4 separate regions of the Homo sapiens genome follow, and all the other regions are linked to region 3. The links are contacts of gene promoters, found by promoter capture Hi-C in blood cells and fetal thymus (Javierre and others, 2016). All regions are on one chromosome and are shown on one strand. Each heading gives the region's core, a stretch centred on a gene start or on the middle of the fragment in contact. The rest is flanking DNA. Distances are from core to core; before and after follow the strand shown. Region 1 holds the start of EXOSC4 (exosome component 4). Region 2 holds the start of ZNF7 (zinc finger protein 7). Region 3 holds the start of CPSF1 (cleavage and polyadenylation specific factor 1). Region 4 holds the start of PLEC (plectin).

The links. The method cuts DNA at HindIII sites, captures the fragments that hold promoters and counts their contacts. A CHiCAGO score of 5 or more calls a contact.
Region 1: a contact is called between the fragment with the promoter of EXOSC4 here and the fragment with the promoter of CPSF1 in region 3, in 1 of 17 cell types (neutrophils). The highest score is 7.0, in neutrophils.
Region 2: the fragment with the promoter of ZNF7 here is called in contact with the fragment with the promoter of CPSF1 in region 3 in 2 of 17 cell types (neutrophils and total B cells); the score reaches 7.5 in neutrophils.
Region 4: a contact is called between the fragment with the promoter of PLEC here and the fragment with the promoter of CPSF1 in region 3, in 1 of 17 cell types (neutrophils). The highest score is 6.3, in neutrophils.

The regions. Positions count from the first base shown.
Region 1 is chr8:144,076,826-144,079,925 of GRCh38, forward strand. It overlaps EXOSC4 (exosome component 4), which reads left to right and starts at 1,847. Exons shown (of 3, transcript NM_019037.3): 1 at 1,847-2,074. The coding sequence starts at 1,904. It overlaps MIR6847 (microRNA 6847), which reads left to right and starts at 3,049; the gene lies at 3,049-3,100. LOC124902038 (a long non-coding RNA gene) reads right to left here. Exons shown (of 2, transcript XR_007061141.1): 2 at 1,174-3,100. RefSeq lists enhancers at 1,559-1,608, 1,619-1,918. The HindIII fragment of the contact is 1,430 bases long and covers 1,068-2,497 here.
Region 2 is chr8:144,826,054-144,829,125 of GRCh38, forward strand. It overlaps ZNF7 (zinc finger protein 7), which reads left to right and starts at 1,507. Exons shown (of 5, transcript NM_003416.4): 1 at 1,507-1,556; 2 at 2,990-3,037. The coding sequence starts at 3,035. LOC100130027 (a long non-coding RNA gene) reads right to left here and starts at 987. Exons shown (of 5, transcript NR_147501.1): 1 at 1-987. RefSeq lists a silencer at 698-1,827 and enhancers at 1,159-1,684, 1,685-2,210, 2,211-2,736. The HindIII fragment of the contact is 9,547 bases long and covers 1-3,043 here.
Region 3 is chr8:144,407,737-144,410,812 of GRCh38, forward strand. It overlaps CPSF1 (cleavage and polyadenylation specific factor 1), which reads right to left and starts at 1,599. Exons shown (of 38, transcript NM_013291.3): 1 at 1,553-1,599; 2 at 1,279-1,436. The coding sequence starts at 1,422. RefSeq lists an enhancer at 1,086-1,135 and a silencer at 1,406-2,065. The HindIII fragment of the contact is 8,279 bases long and covers 1-1,986 here.
Region 4 is chr8:143,938,059-143,941,142 of GRCh38, forward strand. PLEC (plectin) reads right to left here and starts at 1,539. Exons shown (of 32, transcript NM_201384.3): 1 at 1,292-1,539; 2 at 573-634; 3 at 93-182. The coding sequence starts at 1,403. RefSeq lists silencers at 1,156-1,255, 1,536-1,765 and enhancers at 1,276-1,515, 1,926-1,985, 2,163-2,457. The HindIII fragment of the contact is 38,856 bases long and covers 1-3,084 here.

The sequences.
Region 1 (3,100 bases), core at 597-3,096, 330 kb before region 3:
GAGGCCGAGGCAGGTGGATCACCTGAGGTCAGGAGTTCAAGATCAGCCTGGTCAACATGGTGAAACCCCATCTCTACTAAAACTACAAAAAAAAAGTTAGCAGGGCATGGTGGTGCATGCCTGTAATCCCAGCTACCTGGGAGGCTGAGGTAGGAGAATCGTTTGAACCCAGGAGGTGGAGGTTGCAGTGAGCTGAGATTGTGCCACTGCACTCCAGCCTGGGTGACAGTGAGACTCCATCTCCAAAAAAAAAAAAAAAACCTTAGCCAGGCATAGTGGCAGGTGCCTGTAATCCCACCTTCCCAGCTACTTGGGAGGCTGAGATAGAAGAATCACTTGAACCCTGGAGGTGGAGGGTGCAGTGCGCTGACATTGTGCCACGGCACTCTAGCCTGGGTGCAGAGTAAGACTCCATCTCAAAAAACAAAACAAAACAAAGAAACAAACGAAAAAAACGATGACTCAGTAAGAACAGGGACAGTAAGAGCTCAGACTGAAAGGGGAAAAGGGCTCCACAATAAGCAGAGTGGCTGTAGAGCAGAGGGTGGGGAATCCGGGGTGGCAAGTGGCAGAGGGTGGTGACCCATCATGGCCTCAGACCAGCTGCAGCAGCAGGGTTGTGGCTTGCTCACTCACTCTCATGCCTCAGTCTTTCAGGAGAGCTTAACCACCTTGGAGGGGATGCTGTGACAACTGAACTTGGGCCCCTGCAGCAGACCACATTTCCCTAGCCCGCCTGCTCTTCCTACAGTCTAATATTGACACTCCTCCCACTGAAGGGTGGGGTCCCTGTCCTCATCCCTTAAGCCTGGGCAGATCTGTCTGACTGCCTTGACCCACAGAGTGTGGCAGGAGGGACACTATGTGACTTCTGAGGTTAGGTCCTAAAAATACCATGCACATGTTGTCCACCTTGTTGTCCTGGAAGGCTACCCTTGGAACCCAGTTGCCATACTGCAAGGAAGCCCTGGTTGCATGGAGAAGCCACATGTAGGTGTGCTGCCTGACAGGCACAGATGAGGTCCTGGCCCGCCACCAGCATCAGCCACCAAAGATGTGAGGGAGAAAGCTTTAGGATGGCTGCAGCCCCAGCTACCATCTGGCAGCAACTGTAGGAGAGATCCTAAGTGCAAACTATCTAGCTGAGCCTAGATAACCCCAGATTGCAGCACATAATAATAGAATGATTTTTATTATTTGAAGCCGCTGAGGTTAAGTGGCAAGAGATAAACAGACATACAACCCCTCTCTGGAAAGGATGAGGAAATCTGCATCCTCAAAGGGAAAAGGGAGGCCCACCTGACTGCAGTGTGGAAGCTCGGTGTAAAGGGAGGGCATGAGAGGACTGGAGAGGTGCCAGGTGTGGACCATCCTGGGACACCAGCCTGGTCACTTTCCTAGGACCGCTCAATGCCTTCTCCTGTCAGTGTCGCACCCCACTGGGTTCATCCTTCCACTTTCACACTTGGGGCGCGGGGAAGGGCTGAATGCAGGCACCACTGGTCACGAGGGCGTGACTGGGCAATTCCTCCTTCGGCGGGCGCCCACCTCCTGGCACCCGTGGCACAGCTCCGGGAACGGCTGCGGGCCCAGCCGCTGCTTCCCCGATAGCGCCGCCGCAGTTCCCCGGAGACAGAAGTAGAGCCGGACCGCCGGAAACCGTAGATCCGGGGAGGTCGGGGCCGCGGTGAACTCCAGTTCACCAGGACAGGAAGTGACAGCGGAACGCCGGAAACCGCAGATCCACGGAGGTCAGGGCCGCGGAGAGCTGTAGTTCCCCGGAACCGGAAGTGATGGCGGACCTCCGGAAACCGTAGATTCCGGGCGGTCGGAGCCGCCGGGAGCTGTAGTTCTCCCGCGGCTCAGAGAAGTAGGCAGAGAGCGGACCTGGCGGCCGGGCAGCATGGCGGGGCTGGAGCTCTTGTCGGACCAGGGCTACCGGGTGGACGGGCGGCGCGCCGGGGAGCTGCGCAAGATCCAGGCGCGGATGGGCGTGTTCGCGCAGGCTGACGGCTCGGCCTACATTGAGCAGGGCAACACCAAGGCACTGGCTGTGGTCTACGGCCCGCACGAGGCGAGTGGGCGCGCGGGATGGGGAATCGTGTGGCCGTGGGAGCTGCGGGGCAGCCGGGCTGAGCGCTGGCTCGGGGACTTGAGGGGCAACGGCCGGCGCGCCTCAGTCTACACAGCCGATGCTCAGCACCGCATCTCACTCGGAGTAAACGCAAGTCCTTAGTGTGCTGCGCGGTGGTCCTGCCTTTCTCATCGGCCTCTGTCCCTGCGCCCTCCTTCCTCTTTGCGGCTCTTCAACGTGCTAGGCACTCCCCCACTCGCTCCCTCTCCTTTCAGCTCTACTCCGACGTCACTCCTTCCCAGACGACCTTATTATCCACGCGGTACTTCTCGCCCTACAATAAACCCTTTGTTTTGTGCACCTACAATCTCAAATGCCTATTTTGCTTAAGCATTTTCCCCTTTGTTTCCTCGCTGGAACATAAGCTTCCTAAAGAAAGGAACTTTACATAAAACTATCTGGTTTCATTACTGTGCTTCCAGCGCTGTAACTGCCTGGCCAGCGAAGGTATTGAAAGAGTGTTTGCTTAGCGCATGAGTGTGGGAGCTCTGCTTTCCAGGCGGAGGGAACCAGAAGGGCGAAGACCACGGTGGTGAAAACAAGCAAGGCACTTATGCAGAGCAGAAAGACTGCTGGTGGGGAAAGAGGGGATAACTCCAAATCAGGTTGAGGGTTCCCGGGGAGGTGAGGACTTAGGGTTTTGTAGAGTAGGGAAATGATTTGGGATCTTATTTCATATGTAATGTGAAACCTTTGTAAGGTAGTTAGGATTTGAGTGTGTAGGTGAGACAGAAGCAGCGTTGATGTTTGTAAACTTGGGTTGGCAGGGAATGGGGCAAGGATGGACACAAGGAAGCCAATTAAAAGGTGCCAGAGGGCGACACATGCAAGACAGAGAGCGCAAAACAGGGGGCTTTGTTTTGGAGGTAACGCAGTTGCCCCTTGCTGAGGCATTGAAAGTGGAGGGAGAGGCAGACCCACAGAGGACAGTGGAGTGTGAGCTGGAAGGAGTGGGCCTGGCTCATG
Region 2 (3,072 bases), core at 257-2,756, 420 kb after region 3:
CCTGAGTGTGCCTGGCTTTGGAGGGTCTGCTTGCTCAGTGGCCTCTAGACTCAGCCGGGCAGTGGATGCAGTGGATGGAGGAAGCCCCCTCGCCCCAGACAGGACCTCAGGGCCTCAGAGCCCTGGCATCTGCACCCTGGACACAAGGAAGGTGCCTATGAGGTGGATGCTCTAGCCAGGCTTTCTCCCCCTCCTGCTCCTGTGTTACCCTGGTGTGCCCCCCTCACCTGCAGCAGGCCAGGTTGGGGCATAGGGTTGCCGGCCCCTACCAGCCCTGGGGGTCTGGAGGGCGGCTGGGGAAGCAGACCCCCTGTCCTTCCCTATCCTTCGCGACATGCTCCCTGAGCAGCTGCAGTCCACTTAGATGACCAGAGAGGATGTGGGGCTGAGGGAGCCGAACTCGGGGCAGCAGGGGCGGGGGTGGGAGTGCCGGGATCATCCGCACCGGGAGAGGCGAGGCCGGCGTCTGTTTTTCACCTGGGCCTCCCTGGGGGGCTGGGGGCTGCCTGACTCTTCCCTCCTTTGGTTTGCGCAAGTTTTCCCGCGCGGGTTCGGATCAACACGCCGGGGGAGCCCGGCTTACGTCCCTCCTGGACCCCCGCCCCGTTCTTCCCGTGGGGAGGGGCGCGTCAGGCGGACCTGGCACCCTCCGGCTGCTGGGCTTCGCCGGGAGCCACGCGGGGAGGTCCAGGCAGTCGGGACGCAGGCAGCGTCCTCGCCGAGGCTGCGAGTCCGTGGCCGTCCGGGGGAGGCGCGCAGGCTCTGCCGGACGCAGAAGGAACCCGAAGGAGGCGGGGTGGAGGGCGGTGCGGGGCCGGGGAGGGGCGAGGCGAGTGGCGAGTGGACGCCGGGCCCGGCCTCGGGCAACTCCGAGGGGCGCCCTTCCTCGGGGTCCCGGAGGCTCTGCGACCCCGCGGCCGCTCCAGCCGCTCACTGGGGACAAGGCCCGAGCCAGGCGTCTCCGCGAGGCGGGGTCCATAGCGCGCCCAGCAGGCGCCTCCTGTCGCAGGGACGCGGGGGAGCGGCGCCTGAACAGCCTCGGTGGGAACCAGCGCCCGAAGCTGGTGATCCGGGGTGCGCAGGGCCCAACCGGGCGATCCCCTGGATCTCCGCCAGCCTCGCCCCGACTCCGCTCCTCCCACCCGCCAGCGAGTCCGCAACTCCCGGCCCCGGCCCGCGTCCCCAGCTCCAGGCCCCGGCCCCGCCCCGCCCCTGCTCAGGCACCGCCCACTCCGGGCTCTGGGCCCTCCTCTCCCTCGCGGCTCCGCCCCCTGCCCGCCTCTGACTGTACCCCGCCCCCAGGCGCCAGCCCCGCCTATCTGGGCTTCTGGTCCCGCCCAGGTTCTTGTCCCTCGGGCCCCAGCCTCGCCCCTCCTCGGCTCTGACTCCACCCCTTCTCCGGAGCCTGGGAGGCGGGGCTGAGAACCACAGAGATGGCCGGGCCTCCGAGCGGCCCAGGGCGGCCGGAAGTTTGCGGGGCGGGGCGGACGCGGGTGGCCAAGGCCCGTTTCCGGCGGCGTCGCGCGTTTGCGAGCCTCGGGTGGTCCTCAGGGAGGGTGAGTCGGCGCGGCGGGCGCGGACTCGGGTTGCCCTCGGTCCGAGTGATCCCTGGTCGCTTCCTTAGCCCTCCCGCCTTCGGCATTGGGGTCCCCGCGTCCCCCGGGCCTCCAGGCGGGAAAGCGCGGGGGCTTTGCGGGGCCTTGAGCGCCTGGTGTGGGAGGTGGTCGAGCCCAGCCACCCTCCCCCGCGGCGGCGCGAGGTGGGCTTCGTTTGGCCGAGTCTCGCAGCTCCCCGCAGACCCCGCTCGTGGCGGCCACGGTGTCCGGGGCCTGAGTAAGGCGAGCTCCAGCTGCGGCCTTTTCTTCAGGCCTGGGTCTACTCCCGGGGCCCTGACTCCTCCTGCGAAATCACCTCCTTCTAGAGCCTTTTCTCTTTCTATTTATTGCCCCGGAAGGCCTAGGATAAGTGACAGTGGAGGAAGGAACGGTGCCTTGGGTGGGGTAGGCTGTTTGTCTTCTCTAAATTCTGGTTGCTATTCCGGGCATTCCTACTGTCAGGAGCCAGGTGGGGGGATCAGCCTACCTGTGCCGGTGACCTGGGGCTTCCACCCACAAACCACTTTCTGGGCCAGAAGCTGCCATACGAAGACTCTTTTTCCCATTCCGACCTCCCGGGGGAATGCCTGGGCAGGTAGAGGGTCTGGGGTCATTGGCTTAATTGAGGTGAACGATTTATATCAGATTACATCCCTGTGCCTGGTTCCATCCTGGCGACAGGTGAGCTGGAGACTGGAATTTATGTACTTGAGGGCAGGGGTTTCCATGTCCACTCTTGTCTTCCCTACAGTTTGTCATTTTTGCTCCTGCCTTCTCCAACCTCCAGTCGCTCACTGCCTTCCCCAACCTCCAGTCGCTCACTGCCTTCCCTTGCTGCCGGGAATTTACCCACACTGGTTCATCCAACCCCATTTCTTCTTGCTTCAGGCCCTTTCACATGCTATTCCTGCTGCCTGGAGTGCTCTCTCCACCTCCATTACCTTGGCCGAGGTCCCTGGGGAAGTGACCCATTACACTGAACGTTCTAGTCTAAGTGGCTTTCATAGTTCCCTGTACTTGAGCGCTGTCGTGGTTGCAGTGTGCTTATTTGTGTGGTTATTTAACTCTTTCCTCCGCCAGACTGCTTCGTGAAGGCAGGGTCCTCGTGTCCACTACTGTATCCCCATTACTCAGTGCCTGGCACGTGGCATCCACTTCTTACGGCTTTGTGGAGTGAGTCACACATGCCACACACACATACACTCTAAAGAGGAACAAGAGTTCAGTGGGCCTCCTTCACTCAAGTGCCATGGCTGCTTCAGCCCAGCCCCATGTCCCTGCTAGAGAAATCTGGGGCTGGAGGTAAAGGAGCAGAGAGCACAGTACCCCCTTGATTAGCCTGGAAGTTGGGCTTCTGGCACCTTGACCTCTAATCCTTTCATAATTGCCAACAGGTCTCTCGGCCAGAACACGTGGATGCCCACCCACCACTGAGCCTCATGGTAGGAAGCTTGACTGCCTCCTTCCCCTCGCATGT
Region 3 (3,076 bases), core at 349-2,848:
GGGTCTTGCTATGTTGCTCAGGCCAGTCCTGAACTCCTGGCCTCAAGCAGTCATCCCACTTCAGCCTCCCAAAGTGTGGGACTATAGGTGTGAGCCAGTGCACCCAGCCTGAGATTCGGTTACAGGACTCGCCGTGGCTTCAGTCTTGGTGGGTGTCTCATTGTGAGGGAGGCTGCCATGTTGTGAGCTGCCCCAGGGAGGGGCCCATGTGGTGAGGAACTGCGGCCTCCTGCCAATAGTGTGTTAGGAGCAGAAACTCCAGCCCTCGTCAAGCCTTCAGAGGACAGGAGCCCTGGCCAGCAAATACATATGTATGCCGGGGTAGGTGCCCAGGAGGGTTGGCCTCCTTTGGCCTGAGCTTCTGACCCATCTGCCTGCTGGGTCAGCCCCTATTCACAACCCTCTTGTGGCTCCTCCCTGCTTTGTGGAGAATAGTCCTGACCACGGCCTACCTCCCTCCATCCCCACCACCACATCCAGTCTATACCACGGCCACACTGTGCATGTCTCTCCACCCTCAACTGCTTTGGGCCTGTGCACAGGCTGTTTCTTCTGCCTGGAACACCCTCCTCTCACCATCCCTGGGCCTGGGTAAGAGGTACTCCTCCCTTCAAGAGCAATGGAGAAACTGCCTCTTGCAAGTTGCTTTCCTGGACCAGCTTTCAACCCTCCGGCAACCAAAACACCACTGTATTTCCCAAACCCTTGAGGCGTGTGCCCCACTGTACCAAGACTCCTGTCAACAGTCTGTCCCCATCCTAGACCTGGCCTTGTTCCTTGTGCTACCAATGTCCTTCCCCCGACAAACTCCCGCTCTGCCTCAGACAGGCTCTTCTGATCATGCGACTGGAAATACACAGTCTCCTTCCTTCACTCCTTTATTCCCGCAGCAGCACTTGCTGCAGGGGCAGGTGTGTTTATTTAGATGTTCCCCTTCCCCAAGTGTCTGCAGGTGTGGTTCACATGGTATCTCTGCTACCCAGCGCACAGTGGGCGTTCGCTCCTTCCGAACAACTTGCTGAAAAAACGGAAGAGCAAACAAGACGGCTAGGGCAGCGCGCCCTTCCCGGTGGGGTAGGAAGGGAGGCAGAACAGGGTAGCAGCTGTGAGAAAGGATCTGAGCACAAGAGATTCAGGGTCATGTCCTGGCTCCTCAGGCTGAGGAACGTTAAGCAAATCACTCAACTTGTCTGGGGCTTGGCTCTTCCATCTGCAACCGGGGGCGGTGAGAGCACCCACGTCGCGGACAGCCGGGAGGGCTCCCAGGGCCCGACCTACCTCGGCGTCGCGGTTGAGGCGGTACACGTAGAGCTGCGAGGTCCCGGCCACTACCAGGTTGCGCTCGCTGTTGTTGAAGAAGTTGCAGTACATGGAGAACTCCAGACCGGTGGGCGGATGCGCCTGTTTGTACACGGCGTACATGGCGCCAACCCGGGCTGCGCAAGGCCGGGAGAGGAAGGGTGAGCGGGGTCGCCCACGCAGGAGCCCGGCCCCGCACCGCGCCCCTCCCCGGCCTCGCGCTGCCGCCTCGGCCGCCCGCCCGGCCGCCCACCTGGCAGTTGGAGCCGACTCGAGAGGAACCGGGACAGCAGCGAACTCAGTCCGGCCGGGCCCAGAAGCTGGGCGGGAAGGTTCCGGGCTTCTGCGCCTGCGCAGCGCCGCCGCGTGAGCGTGGCTGCAGGGGCGACAGCGGGCCCTAGTGGCCCGGGATGCGGGCGGCTGGCGGCTCGGCTCCGGGCTGGGCGTCCGGAACCCAAACCCCTAGCGCGCGAAGTGCGGGGCCTCCGCTGCGGGCGGAGCAGCGCGGGTTGGAAGCCGCAGGGGCGCCGGCTGCAGCGGCTCGGGGTCGGCCGGGGGGTGCGTCCGCGCCAGACCCAGGACGGCTGCAGGGAGAAGCGACTCCGCTCGTAGCTCCCGGGTTCAGGGGGCGCGCCGGAATCCAGAAGAGGGGGCGCGGCGCCTCGCCAGTGTCTGGGGCTCCGAGAAAGCTTCCTAGAGAGGCCGCACGCCCCCTCTGCCCAGTGTCCCCGCGCAGAGCGACCCCCGCCGCCAACACTCCCGCGGAGGACGCAGGACCCCGCGAGCCCAGCGCTGTCCGCCCGCCTTGCTCACTGCTGCCTACCCAGGGCGGGCCCAGTGCCAGCTTCCGGGAGCTTGGATCCTGGATCAGGCACGGGCCTAGGACCTAGAAACGGAATCATGAGAAATAAAACAAGAAAGTATCGTTACGCCCAAGAAAATGGCGTGGAAATATGTGTTTTTGTTGCATCCAAATCTACTTGCTCATTGGGCAGTGGGGGAAGGGCCACTTGGATGCTCAGGCGTGTGACCCCTGAGCCACACTCAACCGCCTTTTAAAAGTCAATAGGAGGCGGTGGCTCACGCCTGTAATCCCACTTTGGAAGGCCGAGGTGGGCGGATCACCTGAGGTCAGGAGTTCGAGACCAGCCTGGCCAACATGGTGAAACCCAGTCTCTACTAAAAATACAAAAACTGTGGGGGAAAGAGAGAGAGATCAGATTGTTACTGTGTCTATGTAGAAAAGGAAGACATAAGAAACTCCATTTTGATCTGTACTAAGAAAAATTGTTTTTGCTTTGAGATGCTGTTAACCTGTAACTTTAGCCCCAACCCTGTGCTCACAGAAACATGTGCTGTAATGAATCAAAGTTTAATGGATTTAGGGCTATGCAGGATGTGCCTTGTTAATATGTTTGTAGGCAGTATGCTTGGTAAAAGTTATCGCCATTCTTCATTCTCGATTAACCAGGGACACAATGCACTGCGGGAAGCCGCAGGGACCTCTGCCCAAGAAAGCCTGGGAATTGTCCAAGGTTTCCCCCCACTGAGACAGCCTGAGATATGGCCTCATGGGAAAGGAAAGACCTTACCGTCCCCCAGCCCAACACCTATAAAGGGTCTGTGCTGAGGAGTCGTAAAGAGGGAGGCCTCTTTGCAGTTGAGATAAGAGGAAGCCTTCTGTCTCCTGCTCGTCTTTGGGAATGGAATGTCTCATTGTAAAGCCAACCATTCCCTTTTGTTCTATTCTGAGATAGGAGAAAACTGCCTGGAAGCA
Region 4 (3,084 bases), core at 289-2,788, 470 kb before region 3:
AGTGGGCGGCCGGAGAGGCCCCAAGGAGGGAAGGCAGGCAGAGGTCTCCAGGTGGGGCAGGCGGGGCCCGGAGGGGGCAGGGGCACACGTACCAGGCTGTCCCCCGAGAGGACCTCCAGCAGGGAGATGAGGTTGTGGCCATCGCGGAGGTCTTCATACAGGTCACTGATGTGCCTCTGGGCCTGTGGGGACAGCAGCGGCTGAGGTGGCCAGTCCCCCAGAGCCACCAATAGGCCCTGAGTGGCTGATCTACAGAGTGGGTGCTGGTCCCAGAGGGAAGGAGGCGGGGGCTGAGTCTCCCGGGAGCCCACGGAACACACCCTGCCCCACGGAGGCACCTACCTCTGCCCGCCAGTGCTGCAAGGAGAGACCAGGAAAGACCAGAAGGAAGAGGAGGAAGAGAGAGGCAGGAGCAGGCGTAGGGAAGAAAGAGGACAGAAAATAACAGGTTTCAGAGATGAAAGGTGAGCACACAGGCAGCATGGGGACAGCCTTGGGCGGCAGGGGCCACCCTCCCTCAGCGCCTCCCACAGCCTCAGCCCCTGTGACACGCACCAGCATGCGCCACCAACCTTGATGAGGTGCTTGTTGACCCACTTGGTGAAGGTTTTCTTCTGCACACGATCCCGCTCATCTGGGGGAGACAAGACCAGCTTACCTGGGGCCTGGGAGAAGCCCCGGGGGCCCTCAGGTGACCACCGTGCAGACACAGCAGCCTGGCTGGCCAGGTCCTGCCTGGGGAGCCCCAAAGCCTCCCTCAGATCACACACTGAGACCCAGGCGCCCTCACCCGCAGCCCAGCCACACAGCAGAGACCCAGGTGCCAGGGGCCCAGGCGCCACCAGGTGCAGCCACCCCACCCCGGACTCTTCCCCCGAGGAAATGGGAGGGTCCTGGGCGCACCCTGAGCCCAGGGCACACAAGTCCCGTCCTGCAGTCCCCCCCGGCCTCTACAGACTGAGACCCAAGCAGGGGTGTGGCAGAGCCAGGGCCCGGGCCCGCTGGGGTGTTGGAAGGGAAGCCGCGTGTGCTGCTGACAGGGCAGCGAACCTTCCCCAGAGCGCAGAGTTCCTCGCCCTTCCAGGCCCGACATCTGACGCTCGGAGGCCCCCGTCAGCCTCGCGGGCGCCTGTCGGCCCACTCCGTGTTGGGTGGGGATGGCTGGCCCCCGACCCCCATCTCCAAGACCAGCCCCCCAGCGGTGCCAAGGCTTTCCTGCCACAGGAAGTGGGCCTTCCTCCCGCAGGGGCCCGCCCTGCCTGGCGGGGGTGCCCGAGGGGAGCCCTGCTACCTTTCTTGCCCTCAGAGGCCCTGAGCACAGCCAGGTACAGGTTGTCCTCCGAGCTGGTTCTCTTTCGGCCCAGGCCCTCGGGCTGCGGCACGCGGAGCTGGTGCTGAGACATGCTGCCCCCACACCTTCGTCGCCCGGACCCTCGGCCTCAGGCACGGTGCTCTGGGCAGCCCCGTGTGGCACACAGGCAGCTGAAGGCTGGCGGCCCCACGAGACGCTCACTCGGCACAGGCTCAGCTCAGAGCCCCAGTCGGTGCGGCCACTCCCTGCCTGCTGTACTCCCCGGCGAGGCCGGCCCGCCCCCGAGGCCCCACCCTGCCCAGGCCGCCGCCAGGGAGGGGAGTGTCCCGGCGGGAAGGAGCAAGCAGCCCCCTCCCCCACAGACACGCCCTCGGCCCGCCAGAAACAGGAAACCGGGGTTTCCTCACCCACCCCGACCACTGCAGCCCCCTAGGGGGACCTGGGGACACGGGGAGCTGGCACTTCACTGCACACCAAATGGTGCCAGGACCGCAGAGGAACACAGGCCGTCCCCACAGCCACCCAGAAGGACCCCCCAACAGACTGAAGGGCTCCCCCGACGGGAGGGGCTCTGAGGCCACGCCTCTCTTTGGAGCTCCCTCCAGGCCTGGGCCAGGCCCTGCTTCAGCCTCTGCCCACCCACCCTGCCAGGGCGGACTCAAGAAGCCGCTGATACCTGGCGAGGGGAGGGGACCTGCTGCCTGTCAGCTCTTGCAGCCCCCCAATCACACCTCTTCACAGACCTGCATGAAGCGGGGAGCACACCCTGCCCCATGGTGCCTGCCCTGGCCCTGGGGCCAGTGGGGTCCCACCCCAGGCCTGGCCCCTCCCAAGCTGCCCACCTGGCACATCCTGGAGCAGTGCCCACCTGCGGAGCCCACCCTGCCCCAGGCAGACACCTCACGTCGGAGGCGCGTAGCTGAGGGCTGACTCACGGAGGCCGGGCCTCATGGGGGAATGGAGCATCGGGAAGCCCCAGGAGGGGCCTCGCCAGTGAGTCAGGGATGGGGAGGGGGCCCAAGCCTGTGACTCACAGAGGGGAAGCCACACCTGAGGCAGGACCTGGGCGACCCCAGGGGTGGGGGGTGCTGTTTGCAGCTGGGTGGGGCTCAAGGGAAGCAGTCTCATGCTGTAAAGGGCAAAGGGCAAAGGGCCTGCGCTGGCTGGGGCCTCCGGCTCCCTGGGGTCCGGGGCGGAGCTGCCTCTGGCCAGCTTCTGGGCCTGCCCAGCCCACCCGACCACCATAGGAAAGAATGCGCTGCCCCAACCACAAGAATGTTCCAGCCGCACATCAGGCAGATTCGGTCCAGCTGGGAGCTGCACTCGGCCTCAGTTCTGGGAAGAGCTCACCCCACCTCATTCCTACTGCCCCTGAGGCCGTGAGGGGGCACCAGAACCCTCACAATGGGGGGTGCCCAAACCCCTCAGAGGTGGGGAAGCCCCCACTCCACGCCAAGGGGCACAGCCAGCCCCTAGGGCTCTGCCACATCGTACACGCCGCCCAACGAAGACACCCCTTGGTCTCCATGCATGGTCTCTGAGCCTGGCATGAGATTCAGGGTGACCCTCTTGCTCTGCCTGTCCGGCCCAGCAGCCTCCAGAACCTCAGGAGTCACCAGAAGCCCCCAAATCAAAATCTGACCCCGCACTGGTCAGCACCTCCAGTCTTGTGCCCAAGGGCACCCCGGACCCCACACCTCTGCCGCCCCTCCCTGGGTCCAAAGCCTCTGGAAACACTGTCGCCTCTTCAGAAGCCCTGGGCCAGCAGCTAC